Linked DNA regions of Homo sapiens: regions 2, 3, 4 and 5 are each linked to region 1. The links are contacts of gene promoters, found by promoter capture Hi-C in blood cells and fetal thymus (Javierre and others, 2016). All regions are on one chromosome and are shown on one strand. The core of a region is centred on a gene start or on the middle of the fragment in contact, and the rest is flanking DNA. Distances in the headings are between cores, read along the strand shown. Region 1 holds the start of PLXNB2 (plexin B2). Region 2 holds the start of MOV10L1 (Mov10 like RNA helicase 1). Region 3 holds the start of SCO2 (synthesis of cytochrome C oxidase 2). Region 4 overlaps LMF2 (lipase maturation factor 2). Region 5 overlaps MOV10L1 (Mov10 like RNA helicase 1).

Evidence for each region. The method cuts DNA at HindIII sites, captures the fragments that hold promoters and counts their contacts. A CHiCAGO score of 5 or more calls a contact.
Region 2: the fragment with the promoter of MOV10L1 here is called in contact with the fragment with the promoter of PLXNB2 in region 1 in 2 of 17 cell types (neutrophils and activated CD4 T cells); the score reaches 6.6 in neutrophils.
Region 3: the fragment with the promoter of SCO2 here is called in contact with the fragment with the promoter of PLXNB2 in region 1 in 8 of 17 cell types (naive CD8 T cells, M2 macrophages, monocytes and 5 more); the score reaches 7.8 in naive CD8 T cells.
Region 4: a fragment that was not itself captured here is called in contact with the fragment with the promoter of PLXNB2 in region 1 in 6 of 17 cell types (naive B cells, M0 macrophages, naive CD8 T cells and 3 more); the score reaches 7.9 in naive B cells.
Region 5: a fragment that was not itself captured here is called in contact with the fragment with the promoter of PLXNB2 in region 1 in 2 of 17 cell types (neutrophils and naive CD8 T cells); the score reaches 5.7 in neutrophils.

What each region holds. Positions count from the first base shown.
Region 1 is chr22:50,306,396-50,312,523 of GRCh38, reverse strand. It overlaps PLXNB2 (plexin B2), which reads left to right and starts at 4,878. Exons shown (of 37, transcript NM_012401.4): 1 at 4,878-4,971. It overlaps DENND6B (DENN domain containing 6B), which reads left to right. Exons shown (of 20, transcript NM_001001794.4): 18 at 1; 19 at 107-181; 20 at 263-3,494. The coding sequence ends at 385. RefSeq lists silencers at 3,807-3,856, 4,557-4,606, 4,767-4,966, 4,977-5,046, 5,567-5,717 and an enhancer at 6,025-6,128. The HindIII fragment of the contact is 14,640 bases long and covers 3,408-6,128 here.
Region 2 is chr22:50,086,531-50,092,658 of GRCh38, reverse strand. It overlaps MOV10L1 (Mov10 like RNA helicase 1), which reads right to left and starts at 2,653. Exons shown (of 27, transcript NM_018995.3): 1 at 2,474-2,653; 2 at 474-658. The coding sequence starts at 2,570. The HindIII fragment of the contact is 7,134 bases long and covers 1-6,128 here.
Region 3 is chr22:50,524,348-50,527,409 of GRCh38, reverse strand. SCO2 (synthesis of cytochrome C oxidase 2) reads left to right here and starts at 1,812. Exons shown (of 2, transcript NM_005138.3): 1 at 1,812-1,938; 2 at 2,986-3,062. The coding sequence starts at 2,999. It overlaps NCAPH2 (non-SMC condensin II complex subunit H2), which reads right to left. Exons shown (of 20, transcript NM_152299.4): 20 at 2,630-3,062. TYMP (thymidine phosphorylase) reads left to right here. Exons shown (of 10, transcript NM_001953.5): 6 at 127-245; 7 at 672-834; 8 at 934-1,164; 9 at 1,269-1,409; 10 at 1,492-1,658. The coding sequence ends at 1,640. RefSeq lists enhancers at 1-20, 41-240, 31-602, 411-710 and silencers at 801-1,630, 1,841-2,140. The HindIII fragment of the contact is 21,491 bases long and covers 1-3,062 here.
Region 4 is chr22:50,497,402-50,503,529 of GRCh38, reverse strand. LMF2 (lipase maturation factor 2) reads left to right here. Exons shown (of 14, transcript NM_033200.3): 14 at 1-581. The coding sequence ends at 139. Among named protein-coding and RNA genes, the nearest start is that of LMF2, 7.2 kb to the left of the region's middle. The HindIII fragment of the contact is 833 bases long and covers 2,184-3,016 here.
Region 5 is chr22:50,135,589-50,141,716 of GRCh38, reverse strand. The region is part of intron 15 of MOV10L1 (Mov10 like RNA helicase 1); the gene reads right to left. Among named protein-coding and RNA genes, the nearest start is that of PANX2, 32 kb to the left of the region's middle. RefSeq lists a silencer at 1,655-1,839. The HindIII fragment of the contact is 7,627 bases long and covers 1-5,950 here.

The DNA of each region.
Region 1 (6,128 bases), core at 3,629-6,128:
GGTGAGAGAGGCTGGGGGTTGGGGAGGGCCAGAACATGGTGGGGGTGGGCACAGGCCCAGGGCAGTGAGGGGCCTTGCTGACAGTAGACCCCGTCTTGCCCTGCAGAACATCGAGACCTGGATGAAAGACAAGTCCGAGGTGGAGGTCGTGGACCTGGTCCTGAAACTTCGTGAGAAGCTGGTAAGATGCCTCCCAGCCTTGTCCCAGCGCCACCAGCCTGGCACGGAGCTGCGCCTGCCCTGACCATGGCTGCCCCTCCAGGTGCGGGCTCAGGGCCACCAGCTCCCTGTGAAGGAGGCTACGCTGCAGCGGGCACAGCTGTACATCGAGACGGTCATCGGCTCCCTGCCCAAAGACCTGCAGGCTGTCTTGTGCCCTCCCTAGAACAAAGCCAAGGGCCACGGTCCCAGGGCCCTAGGTCTGCCTGAGCCTCCCACTCCCCAGTGGTGGCGGCACTGGGCCAAGCACACGCTCCCCTTCCTTGGCCCCCCGCCCAGACTGCAGGCTCCCCTTCCTGCACCACCATTGTCTCAGCAGTAAAGGCGACATTTGGAACCACAGCATGGCCTTGACCATAGGGGTTCCTCGCAGGCAGAGCCTTGCCTCCTCCTGGGTCCCACCTGGCCTCTGCAGACCTTAGGCTGGGACGGGGGCGGGGACAGGCTGGGAGCCCTTGCTGATGTGGGTGCGTCTACCGTCTGCCCCTCCCGGTGCCCATCTGTTGGCCCCCGACCCCCCTGCGCTGTGTGTGATGCTTCCCTCAGCCCAACAGGCTGCCCAGGACAGGAGGGACCCTCTCCTGACACAGCCCCCGTCTTGTCTGGGGATGGGAGGCTATTTTGCATATAGTCATCAACTTGAGAAAGGGAGAGACCACTTTGCAGTGTGAAGAGCTCTGCTCACCACCCCTGGTGCTCCTCTGGACACCCACCTGCTTGGGGCTGTGGTTTGTTGGGAGGTAGGGGTTGGGCAGGGGGCTGTGTGCAGCCCAGCACCTCTGCTAGGAGAGCTGGCTCAGCCTGGCTCTCGGAGAGCCACAGCACCTTCCTGGCTCCCAGTCCTGGAGCCCCCACCAGGCACCAGCTCCGTGCGTCCCTTCTGGGAGGTGGACAGGGCTCCTGTTGTCCAAGTGTGTCCGTCCATCCCCCACATGCAGCCCAAGGGGCTCTGGACTTCGGCCTGACCCTGCCTCTGGCTGGAGCCTGCATGTCTCCCTTTCCTTGGTAAGGGGTGAACGTCCCTAAGAGCCACCTCTGGGTTGTATGCTCCCCCCGTGACACCTGCAGGCACTGAGGCCGGTGAGGTACGGTGTTGACCCTGCACAGCACACAGTGACGGTACTGTCAGGGCTCCGGACAGCCAAGCCCTGCTCAGCATCACGCACTGTGTGCCCGGGAGCAGGTCCCCTGACCACTCAGACCCTCAGACTCCTCATCTGAGCGAGCCAGCCATGCAGATGCCCGACAGGGTGCTGGGAGGGCCACTCATGGAGACTGGGCTTTGTACCCTGTGAGGCCGGGCGGGTGCTGGCCAGGGGACACAGGGCTGGGGGAGGGACTTTTTCTTTTTTTTTCTTTTTGAAATGGAGTCTCGCTCTGTTGCCCAGGCTGGAGTGCAGTGGCATGATCTCGGCTCACTGCAAGCTCTGCCTCCCGGGTTCACGCCATTCTCCTGCCTCAGCCTCCCGAGTAGCTGGGACTACAGGCACCCACCACTGCGCTTGGTTAATTTTTTGTATTTGTAGTAGAGACAGGGTTTCACCATGTTAGCCAGGATGGTCTCGATCTCCTGACCTCGTAATCCGCCCGCCTCGGCCTCCCAACGTGCTAGGATTACAGGCATGAGCCACCGCGCCCGGCCGGGACTTTTCTTTTTCTTCTGAGGCCCCCATTCAGTCCGAGGAATGTAGCCTTCATTCAGCGCAACGTACTGTTTGTGTTCTCATTGGTGCTCTCAGACCTCCAGCCAGGTGGTGGAGAGCGAGCACTGCCAGCCACTTCAGTGCAGGATGTGACTGAGCCACAAGGACAGCGGGGTCAGGTGTCCGGGCGCCAGGTAGTTCTCAGAACTTGGTACATGTCAACTTGTCCAGCCCAACTGCAGCCCAGGACAGCCTGTCCCTGTTCCCATTCTACAGACAAGACGCGGAGGCAGCCGGGAGGGTGACCAAGGGGAGCTGTTAAGCCCCAGATGTCTGGTGCAGGGTCCAAGGATGTGACCACATGAAACAGAACACATAGAGGCCGAGGTGGCAAACCTGTTCTGTGGCAGGGACAAGCCGGGGACCCGAGGGTGAGAAAGGTCCTGGCCCCAAATGCAGCTTGGGCCTCCTGACTGTAGCACAGGGGGACCAGCCTCCCCACTGAGGGCTTGGTCTCTAGAGGGTCTGCAGAGATGCTGGCACCTCTTGTGTGGGCAGCTTGAATGCTGACCTCCATAAGATGGGGCCTGGGGGGCCAGTACAGGCCCTGCCATCAGCTGCCCTCCACCAGGGCCCTCTGCAAAAGCCTTATGCTGGTGACCAGCCCCCTGAGGACCACCACTTCAAGGTGTCGGGGCAGCTTGGGAAGACAACCCACCTCTCTCACAACTGTGACCCCACTTTGGGGAGCGCACCCCAAGGACCGTGGCAGCATGTGCTTCCCCACAGCACAGTCTCGCCTCACTTGGCTTTCTGAGGGCTGCCGCACAGCACAGAGGGCTGCAGACCCACATGGCTGCAGGGGAGGGGCTTCAGGCTGGTCTCTGAGGAGCCCCCAGGGACCCTGGCCACTGTGTATCCAGAAATGCACAAGCAGATTTCCCTGGAGGGCTCTGGTGAGGCCACATAGTGGCGTGTGAAGGGGGAACTTGAGGGGGGAACCGGGCTGGGTGGCCAGCATTGCCCTGGGCAGAAGCTAAGGCTAAGGTGGGGGGTAGTGTCCCAGCCCCTCTTCCTCAGGGCCTGTCCCCACCTGTGCAGAAGAGGCCTGGGGTGGAATGTGGCCTGGGGTGGATGGGTGGGGGCTGGGCGTGGAGACCTGCCAGCTCCATCTGTCCGGATGCCTCTTGTGGCCCCCCCAGTGTCAGGGCCGCTCTGAGTTGGCTGAGCCTCTGTCCAGGGCTAGGCCATGGCCCTCCCCGCCCCACGCACTCCAGGCCAGGGGCAGTCAGTGAAGAGGCAGGAAGGTCCAGACAGCTCTACCCCTGGCCAGAGTGCCAGCCCCCGCAGGCAAGAGGGCTTGCTGGGCAGAACTTAGTTGGCGAGGGTGAGGACTGCTGTGGTCACAGGCCTCCCGAAGGACAGGGACCACAGAACCTAGAGGGTGGGAAGGGCTGGGAGCAGGTCTGGAGTGGGGCTCGGGGCTGAGGGTGCACACAGGGGGCCTGCTCAGGGACAGGAAGGACAGCTGCTCACCCTCAAGCTTCCTGCTGGCTATTTAAAGACTCCCTTTTAGTCTAGAACAGTGGCCTTCCCACAGTTTTGGTATTAAAATGTCCTTTTGTGACTGGACCTTGTCTTTTCCTTTTTTGATAAAAAGTTGGCAACCTTGTCAGAACCTGGTAATTTTGGGGTCCTCTGCAGTGAAGGGTAGGGTTGCCGTGATGTGGATTGTGGTTCAAGGCCCAAGGGAAGATTTTGGACAGGAACAAGGCCTGGCTGCTTGAGGGTGGGAGAAGGCAGAGACTGAAAGAACTAAGTCAGGCTGGGGGAGTTTGTCAGGATGTGGCGGGGCGGATCCCGGGTGGGGGAAGCAGAGGAGGAGGGGATGCCTGGCTGGGGACAGGAGGAAGCTGACCAGCTGCAAGGACGGGGCAGGTCTGGGTGGAAGGCGGGCCCCAGGGAGGGGTGACCCAGGGTGGGGGCAAGAGCTTGGGGAATGCTTCTGTCTCCTGCTCAGCACATCCAGTTCCGGGAGGGCAGTGGAGGCGTGCTCCAAGGTCTGGCCCTGCAGACGGTTCACCACCTCTTCTCAAGCCCAGGGGACACTAGGAGCACTGAGGCCAGGACTTGGGACCTGGGATGCCAGAAGTGGGGCCAGCTCTGTCCCAGAAACCAGAACCCCCAGAAAGAGGTCTCGGCCCGCCCACCTCCTGGCCCTGAAGGACCAGGTGGGGTCCCGGGTGCAGCATCCCAAGGTGCTGCTGGAGGCCAGGGATGTGCTGGGAGGCCATCTCCAGGTCCCAGTTTACCCTGGGAGGTTGAGGGCCTGAGACCCCTGGGAAAGGGCCAAAGCCCAGCAGCCCCCACCCCTGAAGGCCGCAGGGGAGCGACTGGTATGCTTCCAGTCTGGGAGTGAGAGTCTGGTGCCCACACATCTCAAGACTGGCAGGGACCCTCACGTTCCTCTGGCCAGGCGAGAGTGCACTCATAATGCCCTCCCCTGGTACCAAGCCATGGCCTCCCCTCAGACCTGCGGGGTTCCTGTGGGGGTGCTCAGGCCATGGGGCCTCTGTGGGCGCTCGTGCTTCCTGGACGGCGGCATGGTGGGCAGGGTGCTGCCCTGGCTGAACCTGGGTCTGAACTGGGGTGCCTGAACCTACCAGACAATGCTGTGGCCGCTGGGCAGGGGAGAAGTGGGGGGCGCGGGGAGCGCAGGCCCAGCCCCTCCCCTCCCGTCCCCTCCCCTCCTCTCCGGTTCTCTTCTGCCCTCTCCTCCCCGCTCCTGCTCCCCCTCCCCTCCCCCTCCCCCTCTTCCCCCTCCCCCTCTCCCCCTCCCCCTCTTCCCCCTCCCCCTCTCCCCCCTCCCCCTCTCCCCCCTCCCCCTCCCCCTCCTTCTCCCCCTCCGCTTTCCCTCTCCCTCTCCCCCCTTCTCCTGTTCTCCCCGCCCTCCCCTCCTCTCCCTCGTCGGGGGCGGGGCCGGCAGCTCCCGCGCGCTCCGGCCCCTCCTCGGCCACACAAAGGCCCCGTCTCCATGGCAGCAGCGCGGGCCAGAGCGCAGCGCCGAGCGCGGCCCGGGCGCCATCGAGCCTTGGCGGCGGACGTGCAGGTACCGAGCTCGGGGGACTGGGCTGCGGGGGACGTCTCGCTGGGCGTGGGGGGGGCTTCGCCGTCAGCGCCGCTCCGCCCGGGCCTGCCGCGCTGGGGCCCGGGGACCTGCGGCGGCTGCGGCTCCGCGGAGGGCTCCCGGGGCCTGGGCCCCGTCCGTCGGTCCATCCGGCGAGGCCCGGGCCGCTGCCGCCCCACTCCCTTCCCGGTGTTGACTCGGGGGACGGGCCCGGCGGCGGGGGCTGCGCGTCCCTCCGGAGCCGCGTCGGATCCCTCCTCCGCGCCTGCCTCTCACTCTTCAGCCGCCGAGCTCCGTGCGCCGAGCGGAGATGGTCTCGCGGTGCGGGCGCTCCGGGCCGGCCCCAGGCTCAGCGGCACAGGAGCCTGGATTTGCCCGAGCTCCCGGGGGCCGTCCCCGCACCCCCTGGGGCCTGCTTGGCGCGGGGGGACCAGGGCGGAGAGCACCCGCACCTGGCGAGACCCCACTGCCTGGGCCTCCTCGCGGTTCCCAGAGTGGCGTCTGGGTGGACACCCCGAGACACAGAAAGTCTCAGAAGCGGGGGCGCGAGCCCTGCCTGTCCCCTGCTGACCCTGCCCCTCCGCACCCTGCTCCTGCAGGAAGCCCCTGCCCTGCCAGCGCCCCTGGTCGGGCTATTCGGCAGATCTGGGGAGCCCGCCTCCCCCTGTCATCTGGGGGTCTCAGAGCCCGGACGCCCTGGGGCTTCCTGCCAGGCCCTTGATTTCTCTTCCCGAAGCTCCCTGGGAAAGGAAGAAAGGGGTCCGTCTGCCCACTGTGGGCTGTGGCAGAGTCAGGACAGGGGGTGAGGGTGAGGGTGAGGGTGAGGGTGAGGGTGAGGGTGAGGGTGAGGGTGGGCCCCAAACCCGGCAGATCCCGGCGGCCTGGAGGGCTCCCTGTGCCCCACCTTCCCTGGACCCCCCCGCCCTCCCCACTTAATGTCTGACTTCGGCCCTTGCTTGGAGGTTCGGCGCAGCCTGTGAGGCTTTAAAGTTGAGCTTCCTCAGGAGCCCTTTGCGGGTGGGAGAGCGAGGCTGCCGGGAAGTGGGGGCTCTCAGCCTGCCCCATGCCCAGATGACCCTGGCACGGAACAGCTGAACAGCTGGTGGGAGGAGCCCTCCCTTTCCTGTCCAGAGGTGAGG
Region 2 (6,128 bases), core at 1,404-3,903, 220 kb after region 1:
ACTGCTGTTTGTTTATTTATTGAGACAGGGTCTTGCTCTGTCATCCAGGCTGGAGTGTGGTAGTGCAATCATAACTCATTGCAGCCTTGACCCTCTGGGCTCAAGCGATCCTCCCGCCTCAGCCTCCCATGTAGCTGGGACTACAGGTATGTGCCACGACACCAGGCTAACTTTTGTGGGTTTTTTTTTTGTAGACACGAGGTTTCACCATGCTGCCCAGGCTGGTCTCTTAACACCTGAGCTCAAGTGATCTGCCTGTCTCAGCCTTCCAAAGTGCTGGGATTACAGGCGTGAGCCACTGTACCCAGTCTATTTTTTAAAACATAAATCATAAAGAGCAAAAGCATCCCCTTGAAGGTACATTCCACTCTTTCTCCCTTGGCCGGGTCATGTCTGATAGATTAAACACAAGGAAAAACAACACAAAGTCCCGTGGCGAAGAAAAACTGTTCCCAAATGAACTCAAACCTTACCCTGATTGCTTTCAGTCCATTGGACACTTTATTTTCTTCCACAACTGCAATCACTTCCTGTCCAACATTCAGAAGCACTCTGCTAGTCACAGCATCACTGGAGAAGTAGATCATATCATCAATCATGCCATAATCGCTGCAGTACCTTGTCACGACACCCCGTACAGTTTTCAGCTTAGTGTCACCTGAGGTAGGTAAACAAAGAAGTTATCTTGGCCATAAAAGCAAGCGTACGCTACAGTGAACCCCACCAGAGAAAGGCAGAGTGCAAAAGCCTCCTTTTTTTGCAGTTCGGAGGCACTGACTCCGAACGGGCTGACTTGAGACAGAGAGAATCCCATCAGAGAGTGCTGTGTCTGGAACGTGGGGTTTGGAGGCAGACAGCCCAGTTTCCTCAGAAGGGCACAGGTAGTGGTTGTGGAGGTGACAGCCCTGACTCCACAACAGACTGCATGGGGTTGACTCCTAGCTCTTCTACTGCCATTGGTGTAACCCTGGACTAGGTCCTTAACTACTCTGGGCCTGTTGCCATCTGTAAGATGGAGACTAATCGTCACTACCCAAGAGAGCTGCTGAAGGGTTAAGTGGCAGAACACACGTGCATGTATGGACCTCTGCGTGGCTGACACGCGTTAAGTGCTATGTAAATGGCCACTTATATCAGCATCTGGGAGTCATTAGCATGCACGGTTTTATTAGTACTATCGATTATCTTTTTATTACCATCAGCAGCAGCCTCGGAAGACTGGAGAATCTCAACAAACACGGTGCTGGAAAAGGTTCGGGGCTGGGCAGACAAGTCTGGCCCAGGAGCAGCGCACGCCCTCAGCCGTCTGGCCACTGCTGCAGCCACGGTCCTGAGTCCTGAACGTGCCTTTACTGCAGCTTCCCAGCCACGGGAGGAACCTGGGGCGACGGTTACAGTACAGGCATAGGATCTGAGCGCTGCCAAGAGCTGGAGCTCCAGCTACCGCTGAGCGCGTGTTCTACCGAAGAGATCCACGGAGCAAGTGCTCCAGGTAACACAGCCGGCCCCCCGGGCATCGGCCCTCGTGGATCCAGAGGCCCTGAACACGCTGCCTGCAGCAGGAAGCTCCCCTCCTGAAGCCTGTTCCTGTCTTTTCTCACAGAAGGCAATTAGGGACCCACTACTGTGGATTCCATTCCCACATAAGGAAACATCGGGAGAAGCCATCAGAACCTCGGGAGAGGTCGGGCGTGGTGGCTCAAGCCTGTAATCCCAGCACTTTGGGAGGCCAAGGTGGGTGGGTCACCTGAGATCAGGAGTTCGAGACCAGCCTGACCAACATGGCGAACCCCCCCTCGACTAAAAATACAAAAATTAGCCGGGCGTGGTGGCGGGTGCCTATAATCCCCGCTGCTCGGGAGGCTGAGGCAGGAGAATCACTTGAACCCAGAAGGCGGAGGTTGCGGTGAGCCGAGATTGCGCCACTGCACTCCAGCCTGGGCAACAAGAGCGAAACTCCGTCTCACACACACACACACACAAACACCTCAGGAGAAAGGAACGGTGAGGGCATCCGGGCGCATCCCGGGCTTTAGAAAGATGGGCTTGAAAACCAGACAAGGAAATGGCACGCCTTGGCGCAGCGCGTTCTGAAAGGACAGGCCAAGTCTGCGGGGCCGCGTTTTTCGGGGCTTTCTAGACACACCACCGCCAATGACGCTGCGGACAGGGAGGAACGACATGGAGAGACGACTTGGCAGCTGCTCGGCGTAAACACACAAAGTGAGGGCGGGAAGAGGGGCTGGTGTCACCGGAGAGACCTCACAGAGGACGGGCGCCCAGAGCGGCGGGATGCTGTGGGGTCGGAAGCCTCCTGAGGCGAACGGGGATCCCCGCCAGCGGAGATGAGGAAAGGCCGGGCCCAGCGTTGCCTGCCGGCCCGCACTGCACTCAAAGACCTATGGGCGCGGCTCCCTCGTGGCCGACACGCGAGGGCCCGGGACCCGCCTCCCAGCCGCCTCCCGCGAGCCACCTTCCGCGAGCTCGGGCTCCAGCTGCCCGGCTTCCTCCCTAGGGGTGTCCGCCGTCCTCCAGAAGAAGGCCACCAGCTTGGCTGCGAGGCTCAGCATGGCCCTCGCCCGGCCTAGGCTGCCGTCACCGCCGCTGCCGCCGCCCGCACGCGCCCGCGCCGCTCCCGCCGCCCGCCACCAATGGGGTCGCCGCGCCTGGGCATGCGCCTTGGGGTCGTTGCGCGAGCCGGGACCCGTAGCGGTCAGAGGTCGGCGGTTGGCGCCTGGCAGCTCCTGACAAGGCGAGGTGCCTGGTGGGAGTGACGTCATGCCGAGCGCGCAAGGCGGTGTGACCGCCGGGTGGGCGGGGCTTCGAGCGGGCGGGCGGGGCCTCGCGTGGGTGGGCGGAGCTTCGAGCGGGTCCGCCTTCTTGCCGCCCACACATTAGGGAAAAGTGCGCTTTCACCACCCAGAGTGATGTTAGGAGTCGTTTTTTGTTGGTGTTTTTTATCAAGTTGAGGAAGTTCCCTCTATTCCTGTTTTTCCAAGAGTTCTTATGAGTGGGTGTGAAATTTTCTGCAACGCTTTTCTGCATGTATTCAAATGATCCTGTAGCTTTTTATTTCAGCCCATAGGGAATTACATTGTTTGGCTCTCCTTGGAAAACTCACTTGGTCACGATTCGTTATCCTTTTGGTGTATTGCCTGACTCAGCTTGGTAACGCTTTGTCCAAGGTTGGGGACGGTGCTGGTGAAGCAGATTGCTCTGTGGCCGACCTCCCGTTTTCTGTGTCTGTCTGGTTTGGGGTCGGTTTAAGCCGGGCCTGCAGTGACCTGGGAGTAGGATGGGGTAACTTATTCCCTAAAAATTGTGGTAGTATTCGCTGGGGAACCCATTTGGGCTTCGAGATTTCTTTGTGGGAAGGTTTTTAATGAGAAATTCACTTCTGCATCAGCTAGAGGGCTATTCAAGTTATCAAGGTAATATTGAATAAACTTTGGTAATTCTTTTAAGGAATTTGTCCATTTCATCCAATTATTAGATGTCAGATTATTGGCATAAAGTTGTTCAGCATATTTCCTTATTATCCTTTTAACGTCTGTATGGTCCATAATGATGAGCCATCTTTCATTCTTGACATAGGTAATTTATCTCATCCCTCTCATTTTCCTTGATCAGTCTATATTTATCAATTTTATTGAGTTTTTAAAAAAAATCATCCCTTGATTTCATTGATTTTTCTCTATTTTAAAAATATCTTTACACTTTGCGAGGCCAAGGTGAGCAGATCACTTGAGGTCAGGAGTTCGAGACCAGCCTGGTCAACCTGCCAAAATCCTGTCTCTACAAAAAAATACAAAAAAAATTAGCCAGGCATGGTGGCGCATGCCTGTAATCCCAACTACTTGGGAGGCTGAAGCAGAAGAATCACTTGAACCCAGGAGGTGGAGGTTGCAGTGAGCTGAGATCACACCACTACACTCCAGCCTGGGAGACAGAGCAAGACTCTGCCTCAAAACAAAAACAAAAACAAAATACGTATATATATCTTTACTATTCCAGTGGTTTCTGTTTTTTATTATTTCTTTTTTTTTTTTTTTGAGATGGAGTCCTGCTCCGTCGCCCAGGCTGGAATGCAGTGGCATGATCTTAGCTCACTGTAGCCTCCACCTCCCGGGTTCAAGTGATTCTCCTGCCTCAGCCTCCAGAGCAGCTGGGATTACAGGCGTGCGCCACCACGCTGGCTTTTTTTTTTTTTTTTTTTTTTTTTTTTTTTTGTATTTTTAGTAGCGACAAGGTTTTACCATGTTGGTCAGGCTGGTCTCGAACTTCTGACCCGCAGGTGATCCACCCGCCTTGGCCTCCCGAGTGCTGGGATTACAGGTGTGAGCCACTGCGCCCAGCCCCGACTTATTTTTGATTGACATAGCTTTATTTTCCTAGGTCAGATCTGTCAGTCTGATGACAGCCTGGACCTTGCCTGTCCATGGATGCAGAGTGTACTGATAGTTCTTGCTGTGGGAAGGGAGAGAGTGGCGCACTCCCTAGCATTTCAAATCCCCGCTAAGCCTGTGTCTTGGGCTGGGTGCTGGAACACATACAGGAGCCAGCAGGGTCCCAGGGACCTACTGGTTGGTGGGAGATTAGCTTGGAAACAAGAGCGAGCTGCATGAGGGCTGGTGGCTCATGGGCTCCCTGCCAGGGCAGCTCGCAGCGGGTGCTGTGCCTGCAGGGCTGCCCCTCAGCTCCCCAGCTCGGGCCACTCCCTGGGATTCTGGACTCAGTAGACCCGGCAGATGCCCACAGACATCTCGGCCTCATCATGTCCAGAATGGAACTCCAGATCCTCGCTCCACACCTGCTCCACCCTGGTCTTCTCATCTCTGTCCTCACTGCTCAGACAGAACTCAGCAACGTCGCCCTGACAGCAGATTGCGTCCGCTCTTCAAACCCTGTTCAGAGCCCAGTCCCTCCTCACCACTTGCCCACTGCCACCTCAATGCCAGGCAGCACCTGCTCCTCCCACCCCCCAGCCTGCTCTCCACCCAGTGAGTGACCGGATGCTGCTCTGCCCAGACCCCTCCAGCAGGTCTGTCTCAGAGTTGAAGCAGAGTCGTCTCCATACCCACAGGTGCTGGCACCTGGCTGTCCTACCTGTATCCCCCTTGCATGGTCCTCGCCTGCCTTCCCCAACCTGTGGCCTTTGCTTCAACTCTGCCAGCCTCCCCTCCCTGCCTCCTTCTCACTGAGGCCTGCCCTGGCCCCTGCAAACAGCAGCCCCTCATTTCTCTCCCCTGACTTCTTTTCCCTCATAGAGGAAATCATGTGTGTCACTGGATGCATTAGTCTGTTCTCACGCTGCTATAAGGACATACCCAAGACTGGGTAATTTTAGAGTCAAGTCCTTATAAAGGAAAGAGCTTTAATTGACTCACAGTTCCACAGGGCTGAGGAGGCCTCAGGAAACTTACAATCATGGTGGAAGGGGAAGCAAACATGTCCTTCTTCACAAGGTGGCAGGAAGGAGAAGTCTTGAGCAAAAGCGGGGAAAGCCCCTTATAAAAGACCATCAGATCTCATAAGACCTCACTCATTGTCAGGAGAACAGCAGCATGGGGGTAACCACCCCCATGATTCAATTACCTCCCACCGGGCCCCTTCCACGACATGTAGGAATTATGGGAATTACAATTCAAGATGAGATTTGAGTGGGGACACAGCCAAACCATATCACTGTATAACACACTAATTTGTTTATCCTGTGCACTCCTGTGCCCCCAATGAATGTAAACAGCCTATAGGAAGGACGTCACTTCTTTGTCCACCCCATAAATGTTTGTTGAATGTTGAATGATGATGGGACATCAGCAGGCAGAGGGATGAAGGGCATTTTAGGAGCAAGAATTTGTTGGAAGATTGTATGAAAGAACAGGGCCTGTTCTAGAAACTAGTGTTGCCAACAGAAACTTGGGAGCATTTCTCAAGTGATGACTTATGATCTGGGAAGCTGAGGGATTTGCTCTGCAACCTCTGGTTCAGGGCAGCTTGTTTGTATTTCTAAGTGGAGAGCAACTTTTGAAAGAAAAAAATGTTGAAATCCGATTAACATTTTTTTCCAAACAAAAAGAAACACAGGAGGATTCGATCCAGTTGGACCCACTCCCACTAATCCCGTT
Region 3 (3,062 bases), core at 563-3,062, 220 kb before region 1:
CACCCCCATAATAAGGGACTTGACCCTCAATGCTCAGGGCCCCTGACCCCAAAGTCGGCATCCCCGAACTCTCCCAAGAAGCTCCAGGTTCTCCATTGTCTCCAACCTCCTCTGCCTCCCCCAAAGCCTCCATTCTCAGTAAGAAACTCGTGGAGGGGCTGTCCGCTCTGGTGGTGGACGTTAAGTTCGGAGGGGCCGCCGTCTTCCCCAACCAGGAGCAGGCCCGGGAGCTGGCAAAGACGCTGGTGAGCGGTGTGGCCTTTCCCTGGGCAAGCGTCTTGATGCGGGCCCAGCCTACCCTTCACCCCTCCCGTCCCCACTGCCTCCCTCCACTCAGCAGTCCTGCCTAACCCCAGTCCCACCCTCTTCTGCCCGAAGTCCCTCCCTCCTTCACGGCTTCCTAACCTGCTGTGACTTTAGAGGTCAAGGCTGGCCCGGCCTGGACCTGGGGAAGCCCTCTGTGGCGTTCCTGCCCCAGACCAAGTACAAGTTCCTCCTGGCCCCATGGCGAGGTGTCGCACTTCACTCGTGTCTCTTCCCCACCCCAATCCTTCCCTGACTTCATGCTGGGGGGCTGGCAACCCAGGGTGCAGCAGGGGCTGGAGTTCGACCAAGAACCGGCTGCAGAAGGCCCCGCCATGGGGGGTCCACGCTGAGCCTCCTCTCCGCAGGTTGGCGTGGGAGCCAGCCTAGGGCTTCGGGTCGCGGCAGCGCTGACCGCCATGGACAAGCCCCTGGGTCGCTGCGTGGGCCACGCCCTGGAGGTGGAGGAGGCGCTGCTCTGCATGGACGGCGCAGGCCCGCCAGACTTAAGGGACCTGGTCACCACGCTCGGTGAGGGGGACGGGGTGTAGGGGAGCGGAGGCGGCGGGGGGTGCTTCCCGCTGGGGCCGCCCCGACCCGGCCGCGCCTAAGACCCGTCCCCGCCCGCAGGGGGCGCCCTGCTCTGGCTCAGCGGACACGCGGGGACTCAGGCCCAGGGCGCTGCCCGGGTGGCCGCGGCGCTGGACGACGGCTCGGCCCTTGGCCGCTTCGAGCGGATGCTGGCGGCGCAGGGCGTGGATCCCGGTCTGGCCCGAGCCCTGTGCTCGGGAAGTCCCGCAGAACGCCGGCAGCTGCTGCCTCGCGCCCGGGAGCAGGAGGAGCTGCTGGCGCCCGCAGATGGTGAGCGTCGGGGGAGTCCCCGTCCTTCCGCCTCCGCCATCCCCTTCCCTTCCCGAGGCCCCGCCCCTTCCCGAGCCCGCGCCTCTCAGCCCCTCTCCCCGCAGGCACCGTGGAGCTGGTCCGGGCGCTGCCGCTGGCGCTGGTGCTGCACGAGCTCGGGGCCGGGCGCAGCCGCGCTGGGGAGCCGCTCCGCCTGGGGGTGGGCGCAGAGCTGCTGGTCGACGTGGGTCAGAGGCTGCGCCGTGGTGAGCGCCGCCCCCGCCCTGCTGGCCCCGCACCCCCGCCCAGCTCCGGCCGCGCGGCCTCTAACAGCCCCTCGCTCTGCAGGGACCCCCTGGCTCCGCGTGCACCGGGACGGCCCCGCGCTCAGCGGCCCGCAGAGCCGCGCCCTGCAGGAGGCGCTCGTACTCTCCGACCGCGCGCCATTCGCCGCCCCCTCGCCCTTCGCAGAGCTCGTTCTGCCGCCGCAGCAATAAAGCTCCTTTGCCGCGAAACCTTGTCAGTGCTTGGGCGGGAGCGGAAGGATCCAGGGCTGCGGAGGCGGGGGCCGTCTCGATGAACACGTGACCCCCGGCGGGCTCCGCCTTCCGCGCACGCGCTGAGAGCCTGTCAGCGGCTGCGCCCGTGTGCGCATGCGCAGCTCCGGGGACGCCTGCGCCCTGCCTGTGAGCGTGTGGCGCCCGCTTTCCCTGAGCCGGCGGGGCAGAGCGCAGGGAGCTGGAGGTCGGCGCTTCCTCTCGTGCTTGGTCCACTGACGCGCGGCCCCGCCGCGAGGTGCGGACGCCGGGGCTGGGAGGGGAGGAGGTAGCCCTGAGGACTCGCTGGACTCCGGGGTAGTTTCCCAGCTCCGGCTACTGCGCGGGGCTGGCGGGGCACACCCCAGGGCGCGCTGGAGGCCGGAGCGAGGCTGGGGCGCCCGTGGGAGGCTCCCAGCAGGCACCGGTGTTCTCGCGGCCAAGCACAGTTATAACGCGCTCGCGCGGCGCTTCGAGTGGTCCTGGAACCTTTCTGGCCACGAGGGCGCTGGCCTTGCTGGGGAGGGCACAAACCCAGAACCGCCCGGGCGGGGGTGCAGTGAGTCCTCGGGAGGGTGCCCTCAGCAGGAGGGGGCAGTGACCGGGAGTCCTGAGACCTCCACCTAGCAAACCTTCTGCGGGGGCCCGTGGGAAAGGCTCAAAGGTCACCAACGCAAAGGCAGGGCGTCGGCTGTGAGCCCGGAGGAGCTGCTGGGAAGCCTGGATGTGAGGAGGGTGGGGTTTTGTGGCGGGTGGAAGTGTCGTGCGTCTCTGCCAGGAGAGGTTAAACACAGCCGGCGGGCAGAGTCTGAGCTCCGGGGGTAGGTCGTGCAGGTTTTCTGCTGGGAGTGTGGAGGAAGGCCGCGGTTGGTTGAAGTGGCTGGAGGTAACAGGAAAGTGTTGGAGGAATCGGTTGCTCTCGGGGATTGCAAGCCAGAGAGTTACCCACCTCCTTTTAAGAAATGGGTTTATTGCAAATAGATAACGTGGTTAGTTCAGGCAAGGCATGCACTTGGAATGCTTTCCGTCAGCAAGAGGTTCACCTTGCTGAGGTGCAGGTGCAGGGCAGGGTGCGGTGACAGGCTGGTGATCCCAGGTAGAGGACAGGAGTGACAGGTGTGGTTGCCCAGGTGTGGATGTTTGGTGGAGGTGGAGTTCTGAGCTCAGGTGAGCAGCTGCAAATGCCTGTTAAGCCTGAACGTGGGCTGGGTCCTTCAGATGGGTGGCTGGTCTCAAGTCGCAGGGGCAGCCCAGGCACTGTCCTGGGCCTTCCCTTCTGGCTCCTGACGCCTGTGCTTGTTTCCAGGAGCATCAGATCCATGCTGCTGCTGACTCGGAGCCCCACAGCTTGGCACAGGCTCTCTCAGCTCAAGCCTCGGGTCC
Region 4 (6,128 bases), core at 1,351-3,850, 190 kb before region 1:
GTCCTCCCCGCTGGCACCAGTCAGCGGGGAGAAGCGCAGGCCAGCCTCCCAGAAAGACTCCGGAGCTGCCTCCGAACAGGCCACCGCAGCCCCCAACCCCTGCTCCAGTAGTTCGAGGACCACCCGGCGAAAGAAGTAGCTGTGTTCTCCCAGCTGCACGTCCTGAGAGGGCCAGGTCGCCGGGAGTGCTCTGGCCTCCGGCAGGACAGGACCCAGCCACTGTGCCTTAGCTGACCCTGCAGGGCCAGGCACAGGTTGGGGGGCTGCCCCTGGGGTTTGCAGGGTGCTGCATTGAGGGCTCCAGGCCCCACCCCCACGCCAGCCATGCCCCTCCCCAGGACTCCCACTATTGCCTCTGTGATTGGCCCAGGAGGAAAACACGACCAAGCTCAAGACCCTTCCCCTGCCCTGGGCTGTGGGGGTCTGAGTCTAGAGCCCCCAACCCTAGGCCCCGTGCCAGAGGGGAAGAGGCTGACTCCCAGGGGAAGAGGGGAAGCACTGTCATCTTCCACGTCATCTTCACACCAGCCCATCCTGCCCTTTAGATCTGGGCACCAATAAAGGCGTCTTTTGTGCTTGGCTGTGTGCCTGGTGCTGCTTTCCCAGGAGGCATGAGGATGGGATTGTCTCCCCTGCCCCAGGCAGTGGGCCGCCCAGAGCACAGTCAGGCTCCGCCACGGCGTGGCTCCCTGGGCACCCTCCTGCCCCGTCCTCAGCATTCTCTCTGAAGAGGCCTGGCTTGGTGTTGCCCACTGCCTGATCACAGAGGAGCCTCAGGCCTGGCACAGCCCGGTGGACCTGTCAGCTCCACACTCCAAGGTCGGTGGTGGAGCCGGTCCCTCACTTCCCTCCTGCTCCCACTTCTTGGCCTCAGGAAAGGACGGAAGGGCCAGAGTGGGCAAGGGGAGAAGGAGAGATGAGGTGGGCAGGTTAGAAGAGGCTCCTCTGCAGAGTGAGGCCAGGGGGAGGGTAGCTGGAGGCCCTGGGTTGGGACGGAGGAGGGAAGGTGCATCTGATGCCCCTGGCCTCCATCCTGGGAAGAGAACAGCAGCAGAGACAGCAGTCAGGGCACCGTCCAGGTTTCCATTTGGGGTCAGGTTATCAATCAGAGGTCACTGCCCACCCTGGAAACTCACAGCACAGCTTCCTCTGCCTCTGGCCCGTCCTCTTGGTACAGCCCCTGCCTCCTGGTCTCCTGCCAGACCCCTGGGCAGCTCCCAATGTACCCAGCTCCCTCATGTCACTGACCTCCATCTGGCCCACCCAGGCAGAGCCCTGTGCTCAAACACAGCCTGTGGCGTGAACTCTCAGATGTCTTCAAGGGGCTCCTATACATGGAATAAACAATCGAGAAGTCAGCCTTGGCTTAATAATAGGCTGGGCGCTGTGGCTCATGGCTGTAATCCCAGCACTTTGAGTGGCCGAGGTGGGTGGATCACCTGAGGTCAGGAGTTCGAGACCAGCCTGGCCAACATGGTGAAACCCAATCTCTACTAAAAATACAAAAATTAGCTGGGCATGGTGTCGGGTGCCTGTAATGCCAGCTACTCCACAGGCTGAGGCAGGAAAATCGCTTGAACCTGGGAGGCAGAGGTTGCAGGGAGCCGAGATCATGCCACTGCACTTCAGCCTAGACAACAGAGTGAGACTCCATCTCAAAAAAAAAAAGTAATATGTTTAAAACTAAAAAACCTGTTCCTAGGCTTCTTGGCTTTCTAGACAGGGTCTCACTCTGTTGCCCAGGCTGGAGCACAGTGGTGCAGTTGTGGCTCACTGCAGTCTCAGACTCCTGAGCTCAAATGATTCTCCTGCCTCAGGCTGCCATCACCACCCACACTCCCCTTGTTGCCCAGGCTGATGTTCCTGAGTTTTTTTTTTTTTGAGACGGAGTCTCGCTCTGTCACCCAGTCTGAAGTGCAGTGGCAGGATCTCGGCTCACTGCAAGCTCCACTTCCCGGGTTCGCGCCATTCTCCTGCCTCAGCCTCTCTGAGTAGCTGGGACTACAGGCGCCCGCCACCACACCTGGCTAATTTTTTGTATTTTTTTTTTAGTAGAGACGGGGTTTCACCATGTTAGCCAGGATGGTCTCGATCTCCTGACCTCGTGATCCGCCTGCCTCGGCCTCCCAAAGTGCTGGGATTACAGGTGTGAGCCACCGCGCCCGGCCTGATGTTCCTAAGCTTTCAAGCTCACTTGATGAATGCGTTCTGTGTTTTGTTTTGTGTAGCAGCTCTCTTGGTAAGCCACGTGCTACACAATTCACCCGTTCAAGTGCGCAATTCAGTGGCTTTCAGTTTATTCACAGAGTTGCACGTCTATCACCAGAGTCCATTTATTTACTTATTTAGAGATGGAGTCTCACTCTGTCACCCAGGCTGGAGTGCAGTGGCACAATCTCGGCTCACTGCAACCTCCACCTCCTGGGTTCAAGCGATTCTCCTGCCTCAACCTTGCAAGTAGCTGGGATTACAGGCGTGCACCACCACACCGGGCTAATTTTTGTAGTTTATTAGTAGAGATGGGTTTTCACTATGTTGGCCAGGCTGGTCTCGAACTCCTGACCTCAGGAGATCTGCCCACTTCGGCCTCCCAAAGTGCTGGGATTATAGGCATGAGCCACGGCGCCTGGCCCGGAGGCCATTTTAGAACCTTTCATCTCCAGAAGAAACCCCAAACCCTTTAGCCTTTGCCCTCTGACCCCTCCCTGCCAAGCCCTAAGCAACTATTCATCTACCTTCTGTCTCTGTGGATTTACCTACTCTGGATATTTCCTGTAAATTGGATCAGTAACATGGGACCTTTGTGTCTGGCTTCTTTCACTCAGCACGGTGTTTTCAAGGCCACACCCACGTCATAGCACGTATGAGCGCTGTGTTCCTTTAGGGCTGAGTCAGTCCAGTGTACGGAGGGGCCACGTTTTCCCTGTCCTTATTCATTCGTATATCGATAGACGCTTGCGTGGCTTCCGCCTTTCCTATGTGAATAGTGCTGCTGTGAACATTGGATATGCAAGCTTTTGTGTGGGATTACAGGTGCACGCTACCACACCCAGCTAATTTTTGTATTTTTAGTAGAAACGGGGTTCGCCATGTTGGCCAGGCTGGTCTTGAACTCCTGACCTCAAGTGATCCACCGCCCCCCCCCCCCCCACCATCCTGCCAAAGTGCTGGGATTACAGGTGTGAGCCACCACGCCCAGCCTATATAGAACTGATTTGATGAGAAGCTGAGTCTCTAACAGATGCAGTGACTAAGACACCATTTGGTCAAAGAACCATATAGGCTGTGCACCGGGAGGAAACACACACAGGCTGTTTCCTAGTAAAATGCAAAAAAAAAAAAAAAGGAATAAAACCACTTGCATTTGTCAAAAATAAATTTTTAAGCCGGGCATGGTGGCTCACACCTGTAATCCCAGCACTTTGGGAGGCCGAGGCGGGTGTATCTCCCAAAGTCAGGAGTTCAAGACCAGCCTGGCCAACATGGCGAGACCGTGTTTCTACTAAAAATACAAAAATTAGCCGGGCGTGGTGGCAGGCGCCTGTAATCCCAGCTACTCAGGAGGCTGAGGTAGGAGAATTGCTTGAACCCAGGAGGCAGAGGTTGTGGTGAGCCAAGATCGTGCCATTGCACTCCAGCCTGGGCAACAGGAGTGAAACTCCGTCTAAAAAAGAAAAAAAAAATTTGCATGGAGACATTTGTGGCTGCTGTGTATATTACACTCATTAGCTGGAAACTGTTTATGAGGTGATAGCTAAGTAAGGGATCCATTAGGGGAATGAGCTACTGCCTTTGTGTATAACAACTGTCGAGAAGAAATAGTTAAGTGATACAATCATAATTTTATAAAAAGAGAATCTGGGCCAGGCGCGGTGGCTCACGCCTGTAATCCCGCCACTTTGGGAGGCCGAGGCGGGCAAATCACCTGAGGTCAGGAGTTCAACACCAGCCTGGCCAACGTGGCAAGACACTGTCTCTACTAAAAGTACAAAAAAATTAGCCGGGTATGGTAGTGTGTGCCTGTAATCCTAGCTACTCGGGAGGCTAAGGCAGGAAAATCGCTTGAACCTGGGAGGCGAAGGTTGCAATGAGCCAAGATCGTGCCACACCACTCCAGCCTGGGCAACAGAGCAAGACTCCGTCTCAAGAAAAAATAAAAATAGGCCGGGTGCGGTGGCTCATACCTGTAATCCCAGCACTTTGGGAGGCCGAGGCGGGTGGATCACGAGGTCAGGAGATCGAGACCATCCTGGCTGACATGGTGAAACCCCATCTCTACTAAAAAAAATAGAAAAAATTAGCCAGGCGTGGTGGCAGGCACCTGTAGTCCCAGCTACTTGGAAGGCTGAGGCAGGAGAATGGCGTGAACCCAGGAGGTGGAGCTTGCAGTGAGCCGAGACGCCACTGCACTCCAGCCTGGGCGACAAAGCGAGACTCCGTCTCAAAAAAAAAAAAAAAAAAACAACAAACGGAGAAGTAGGTCCAGAATTTGTCAATAGTCAGTGACTTTGGAGATGGGATTTTTTTTAGTTATTTTGTGCTGATTCATATATGCACATTCCTACTTTATTATTACCCATTACATAACACATATGCTTGAATATTCAAGGAAACACACCTCTATAAGCAATATTCAAGAGTAACTACTGGGCTTGAGAATAAGTGTGTCAGAACAAATGAGATCCTATGAGAGAGAAGGCAGGAGCCAGGGAGGACGATCCCAGGGCTCGGCAGGGAGGCGGAGCCGTCAGAGGAGGGCGGCCAACCAAGGAACCACCCCCCGGAGGTTTGCAGAGGTCAGGGTCCCCGCAGGTGATTGGACTGTTGTGGAGTGTCCAGAAGACAGCGAAAGTCTCTGAGTTCACCAGATAACCCAGACCAACTGGAAACCCAGTGGTGGTTCTACAGAAAAAACTAGCACAGGATTGGCTGTGTGAGGGTGGGGTTGGCGTCTGTCTTCGCTGCAGCTCTGTCTGCAGAGCCAGCACCGTAACAGCTCACACTAGCTGCTCAGTATGTGTCTGAAAGTGAATTAATATCTAGGAAGGGATGAAGGCAGGTACTGCTCTCTGCAGAGACTTCCCGCCTGAAATGCCATAGCCCCAGACATTGGAGCTGTCCAAAACCTTGGCTTGTGGAGAATTTCCAGAAGGGGGCACTGTGGACACGGTTCAGCATCTGCCTCCCAAGGCTGGGGCTCCATGTCAAAAGAAGGTGAGACGACCAGGCACAGCGGTCACTCCTGTAATCCTAGCACTTTGGGAAGCCACAAAAGGATCACTTGAGGCCAGGGGTTCAAGACCACCTGGGCAACATAGCAAGAGCTTCTCTCTACAAAAAAAAAAATTTAAAATGTAGCCAGATGTGGTGGCCTGAACGTGTAGTCCCAGCTACTCAGGAGGCTGAGGCAGGAGGATCACTTGAGCCAGGAGTTCGAGGCTGCAGTGAGCTCTAATTGCACCCCTGCACTCCCAGCATGGCAACAGAGCAAGACCTGGTTTCTTAAAAGAAACAAAAAAAGAGATGAGATTGGGGTGTCCTGCTTCCATGCACGTGGAGGGGAGAACTGGGAACTGTGGACTGTAGGGGATCGAAGACCTTTGGATGGGAAGAGCAGCTCTCCAGAGCTGCACAAGAACCACGGGCAGAGGCCCTGGCTGGTGAGATGATTCTAGCTGTGTGGCTCGCCGAGCAGGAAAAGCAGGAACAGAGACCAGAAATGAGGCTGGGCGCAGTGGCTCATGCCTGTAATCCCAGCACTTTGGAAGGCTGAGGCGGGTGGATCACATGAAGTCAGGAGTTTGAGACCAGCCTGGCCAACGTGGTGAAACCCTGTCTCTACTAAAAATACAACAATTAGCCAGGCATGGTGGCACATGTCTGTAATCCCAGCTACTCAGGAGGCTGAGGCAGGAGAATCGCTTGAACCTGAGAGGCGCAGGTTGCAATGAGCCGAGATCGCACCACTGCACTCCAGCCTGGGTGACAGAGCGAGACGCTGTCTCAAAAAAAAATAATAAAAATAAGTAAATAAATGAAAGTTTAAAATGGCAAGAGTGGCCCAATCTAGAGAAAATGTAATTTGGGAGGGAATAGCTCTCCCTTTACTGTAGCCTTATTATTATGGT
Region 5 (6,128 bases), core at 888-3,387, 170 kb after region 1:
GGGCTCTGGGTCTCACGGGCCTGGAGAGTGTGCAAAGTGCCAGTGCTGCCTGTTGACGTCAGGCAAGATCCTGCACCAGGCCGGGCACGGGGCTCACGCTTATCATCCCACCACTGTGGGAGGCCAAGACAGGTGGATCACTTGAGCCCAGGAGTTTAAGACTAGCCTGGGCAACATGGTGAAACCCTGTTTCTAGCAAAAATACAAAAAAAAAAAAAAAATTAGCCGGGCATGGTGGTGCTCACCTGTGGTCCCAGCTACTTGGCAGGCTGAGGTGGGAGGATCACTTGAGCCCAGGAGGCGGGGCTGCAGTGAGTGGAGATTGGGCGACCAACTCCAACCTGGGTGACAGAGACCCCCCAAACTCATAAAAAAAAAAAAGGCTGCACGCAGTGGCTCACGCCTATAATCCCAGCACTTTGGGAGGCTGAGGCGGGCAGATCACAAGGTCAAGAGATCGAGACCATCCTGGCCAACATGGTGAAACCCTGTCTTTACTAAAAATACAAAAATTAGCTGGCCGTGGTGCCACCAGCTACTCGGGAGGCTGAGGCAGGAGAATAGCTTGAACCCGGGAGGTGGAGGCTGCAGTGAGCCAAGATCGTGCCACTGCACTCCAGCCTGGCGACAGAGCGAGACTCTGTCTCAAAACAAAAAAAAAAAAGGATCCTACACAAGAATTGGTTTTCTGTGTGTTCCAATGTAAGTAGTATTTGTCCTGAACCAGTGGGATTTTCAATTTTTTTCATTATGATCTGTAATTCTTTGTTAAATAACTTCATTATTTTCATAGGATAGATTCTGGAATCTATAAAATCAAAAGTTCTGGGGCCAGGGGTAGTGGTTCACACCTATAATCTGAGCACTTCAGGAGGCTGAGGTGGAAGGACTGCTAGAGTCCAGGAGGTCAAGGTTGCAGTGAGCCATGATTGCGACACTACACTGCAGTTAGGAGGACAGAGGAAGACTCTGTCTCAAAAAAAAAAAGTTTCACGTTAAAAAATTTACACACATTGCTAAGTTTTAGTCTAAAACAGGCTTGTCCAACCAGCGGCCCATGGACTATATACAGCCTAGGATGGCTCTGAATGCAACCCAACACAAACTCGTAAACTTTTTAAAACACTATAAGATTTTTTTGTGATACATATTTTTTTCAGCTCATCAGCTATCATTAGTGTTAGTGAATTTTATGTGTGGCCCAAGACAATTCTTCTTGCAACGTGGCCTAGGGAAGCCAAAAGATTGGACACCCATGGTCTAGAAGGTTATGCCTATAACCTCCTCCCACAACCATTGTGTTTTGCAGAGTGTGACTGACATACAATAAGGTGCACATATTTAAAGTGTGTGACTTGACAAGTCTGACGTGCACATACCCATAAAACCATCAGCACAATCAAGATGACAAATAGACCTGTCAGTCCCCAGAGCCGCCTTGTGCCGCAGCCCCTCCAGTGGCACTGGCTGGCTCACATGCTCTCGAACTTCATACTTCATATAAATGCACACAGTGTGATTCATTGGAGAGCCACCTGTGTTGTTGCATGTCAACAGTTTGCTCCTTGTATTGCTGAGTCATGTTCCATTGTACGAACACAATGCAACTTGCTTATCCATTCACCTGCTCACGGACACTGGGTTGTTTCGTTTTTGGTGATTAAAAACCCAGCTGCTGTGAACTTTGTGTATGGGTCCTCACGTGGCCTTATGTCTTCATCTCTCTAGAGAGAAATGGCTGGGTTGTATGGCAGGTGCGCGTCCAGCTTCTTAAAAACACCTTTTGCACAGTGGTGTGCCACTCCCCATTCCCACAGCAGGGTACGTGCCAGCGGCCCCACGGGCTCACCAACGCGCAGATGGCCCAACTCAATTTCTGGCCATTCTAGCAGGTGTTCAGTGGTACCTCATTGTGGTTTAACTTGTGTTTCCCTAACAACTAATGATGTTGAACATCTTTCATGTGTTTATTACCATCTGTATGTATTCTCTGGTAAAGTGTTCAAGTGTTTGATCCATTATAAAAAATTGAGTTCTTAGGCAGTTTGTAGAGTACTTTCATATGTTTTCCGAATACAAGTTCTTGATCAGATGTGATTTGCAAATATTTTCTCTAGTCTGTCACTTTTCATTGTCTTACCAGTGTCTTTTTTTTTTCTTTGTTTTTTTTTGAGACAGAGTTTTTCTATGTTGCCCAGGCTAGCCTGGAACTCCTGGGCTCAAGAGATCCTCCAGCCTCAGTCTCCTGGGTCACTGGGACTAAAAGTGTATGCCATTGTACCTTACTGTCTAACAATGTCTTTTCAGCAGCAAAATATTTAATTTCACTGAAGTCCAATTTATCCATTTCTCTGTAAGTCATGCTCTTAGTGTCACATAAAAAAAAATCCTTGCCCAAACAGAGGACGTGCAGATGTTCTTCTATGCTGTTTCCTAGATGCATAGTTTTAGGCTTGACATTGCGGCTATAAACCGCAGAGTAAGTTAGTTTTTGTCTGCGCTGTGAGCTATGGACCCAGGTCCATGTTTTGCGCGTGCCCTGCATTTACAGACCACGTGAGGTAAAACAGGTAACTTGATAATATGGAATCTTCCGGCCCAAGAGATACTAATATCTCCCTCCATTGATTTACGTCTTTTGTTGCCCATCTTTTGTCAGATGTATCCCTAATGTTTAAAACATTTAGGTGCTACTTAAAAAAAAAAAAAAATTCAGGCCTGGCATGGTGGCTCACGCCTGTAATCCCAGCACTATGGGAGGCTGAGGTGGGCGGATCATGAGGTCAGGAGTTTGAGACCAGCCTGATCAACATGGTGAAACCTTGTCTCTACTAAAAATACAAAAATTAGCAGGGTGTGGTGGCACGCACCTATAATCCCAGCTACTCAGGAGGCCGAGGCAGGAGAACTGCTTGAATCTGGGAGGCGGAGGTTGCAGTGAGCCGAGATCCGCCACTGCACCTCGGCCTGGGCAACAGAGCGAGACTGTCTCAAAACAAACAAACAAAACACCAAAAAACAATTTCTGAGTGTTTACTGGAAATATATATACAACTTATTTTTCTACACTGATCTTGTATCTTGCAAAATCACTTATTAGTTCTAACAGCTTCATTTTAGATTCCATCAGATTTTTTTTCTTTTCTATTTTTTTTTTTTGAGACAGGGTTTCACTTCATCACTCAGGCTGGAGTGTAGTGGTACAATCACAGCTCACTGCAGCCTCAACCTCCCAGGCTCAAGGGATCCTCTTGCCTCAGCCTCCTGAGTAGCTGGGACTACAGGTGTGTGCCACCATGCCCAGCTAATTTTTAAACTTTTTAAAAATAGAGACAGGGTCTTGCATGTTGCCCAGGCTGTTCTCAGTGATTTTCCCATCTCAGCCTCCCAAAGTGCTGGAATTACCGGCACGAGTCACCACACCCGGCCTCCATCAGACTTTCTACAGGATGCGGATGCCTGTTCTTTCTGCTTCATTGCCTGTCTACAATGCACAATGCTGGGCAGAAATGCTGAGGAAACATGCCCTGATCCTGATCTTACAAGCAAAGAACATTCAGTTATCACTAAGTAGGTTTTTGTAGGTAAAAGAAATTTCCTTTTATTTCTAGTTTGCTGAATTTTGATCAGGAATGGATGCTGGATTTTGTCAGATGCTTTTTCCAAGTCTACTGCCATGATTATATGGTTTTTCCTTTTCAGTTTGTTAATATGGTATATTACACATTTATTTTTGGAATGTTAAGCCATTCCTGGGATGAACCCTCTTGGTCTCATATACATGTGTCATATACATAGATACATATATGTATACATATAAAAATATGTGTATATAAAATATGTGTGTATATATAAAAATATGTATATTTATATATGTATATATAAAATATGTATATTTATATATGTATATATATAAAATATGTATATTTATATATGTATATATATAAAATATGTATATTTATATATGTATATATATAAAATATATATATGTGTATATACATATGTATTTTTTGAGACAGAGTCTTGCTCTGTCGCCCAGGCTGGAGCGCAGTGGCATGATCTTGGCTCACTGCAATCTCCACCTCCTGGTTTCAAGCGATTCTCCTGCCTCAGCCTCCTGAGTAGCTAGGTCTACAGGCACATGCCACCACACCCAGCTAATTTTTTTTCTGGGATGGAGTCTTGCTGTATTCTATTGCCCACGCTGGAGTGCAGTGGCGCGATCTCGGCTCACTGCAGCCTCCGCCTCTGTTCCATGTTAGATAGTTTCTATTGCTCCGTCTTCAAGTTCACTAATTTTTCCTTCTGCATTGTCTAGTCTGCTGATAATTCTGTCCAATATATTTTTCATTCTAGGCATTGAATTTTTCATTCCTAGAAGATAAAATTGTCTTTTATATATCTTTCGTGTCTCCACTTAACCTGCTCATGTCTTCTACTTTCTTGAACACATGGAACATATTTATAACTGTTTTAATGTCCTTGTCTGCTAATTCCACCATGTTATTTCGGGGGGGTTGGTTCCAATTGACTAAATTTTCTCCTTTTGGGTTACGTTTTTCACTTTTTCATTTTGTAACCAGATGTCAGTGTCCATTTTATACCTTGCTGGGTGCTGGATAATTTTATATTCCTATAAATATTCTTAAACTTTGTTCTGGGATGTAATCCAATTATTTGGGAACAGCTTGCTTCTTTTGAGGCTATCATACTTTGTCAGTCTGGGCCGGAGCAGCCTTCAGTCAAAGGCTGGACTTTCTACGCTCCTGAGACAACACCCTCCCATGGATTCTACATGTGAATTACGAGGTTTTTCTTCTCTGGCTGTGGGCACAGCTATTTCTGGCACTGTGTCAACTTTTAAGGATTGTTCTTGCTCCTCCTTCCAGCTGGTTCTTTTCCAGGCCTGGGTATTTTACTCACATCATGCACTGATCAATGCTCAGCTGAAAACTCAAGAAGGAATCTCTGTAGGTGCCCAGCTGCTCTCTGTCCCCTGCCCTCTCCCCAGCACTCTACTCTGTCAGCTTTATCCCCCTTGTCCTCCCCACCCTTCCAAATGCTGTCTCTGTACTCAGGTCACTGCACTCCGCCTGGGCTCCCTCTTGGTGCTCTCTGGCCTAGACACTCTCGGAAGGCTGTGAGTTGGGAAAACCATGAGGTCACCTCATTTGTTTCCTCTCTCAGGAATCCCTGTCCTATGATAGCTGATGTTAATGTCTGAAATTGTTGTTCCATATAGTTTGTCTGATTTTTTATTGTTTCAGGAAGGAAGATAAATCTGGTCCCTGAAATTCTATCTTGGTTGACATATGAAATATTCTTGAGTTTATTTTCAATCTAGTTAATCCATAAGAAGATAAAGTTTCAGGTTTTAAAACCTACAGTCAATTAGGAATGTGCCCACCTAAATAGTAACACCTCCCTGATCTCACATGCCATCTGCACCACAGACTCTCCCCGAGAATCAGGCAGTAGAATGAACCAGTAATGAGGTGATGACGGAGAAGAAAAGCACTGTCCAAGGAAGACTCTTTTCTATTTGCAGAACAAAAAAGAGATCAACTATGAAATATGCCACAGATGACTTTCAAGGATAACCTCTTGCTGCTTCATTTGTCGTATTTTCCATGATTGTATAGGCATTCTAAACCTATCATTTTTGCATTTTGGGGGAGGAACTATAAAATGGTGAGCATTTTTGAGTATTAGATATAATTTAAAAATTCATGTTATACATTGAAAACATGCTCATAAAACCAAATTTGAATAGCACAAAATAAGTTGTAAGCTCCACCATGACACAGATGATTTTCTTGTTACTAGAAACATGAAGATAAATAAAACCACTTCTATTGTATTCACAAAAATATACTGAGAGCCCAGGACAATACCTGGCATGTAATAGGCACTATATTACTATTTATGGAGTGACTGGATTATAGAAGCTTTTTTTTTTTTTTTTTGAGATGGAGTCTCGCTCTATTGCCCAGGCTGGAGTGCAGTGGCGTGATCTCGGCTCACTGCAACCTCTGCCTCCTGGGTTCAAGTGATTCTCCTGCCTCAGCCTCCTGAGTAGCTGGGATTACAGGTGTACACCATCATGCCCGGCTAATTTTTGGATTTTT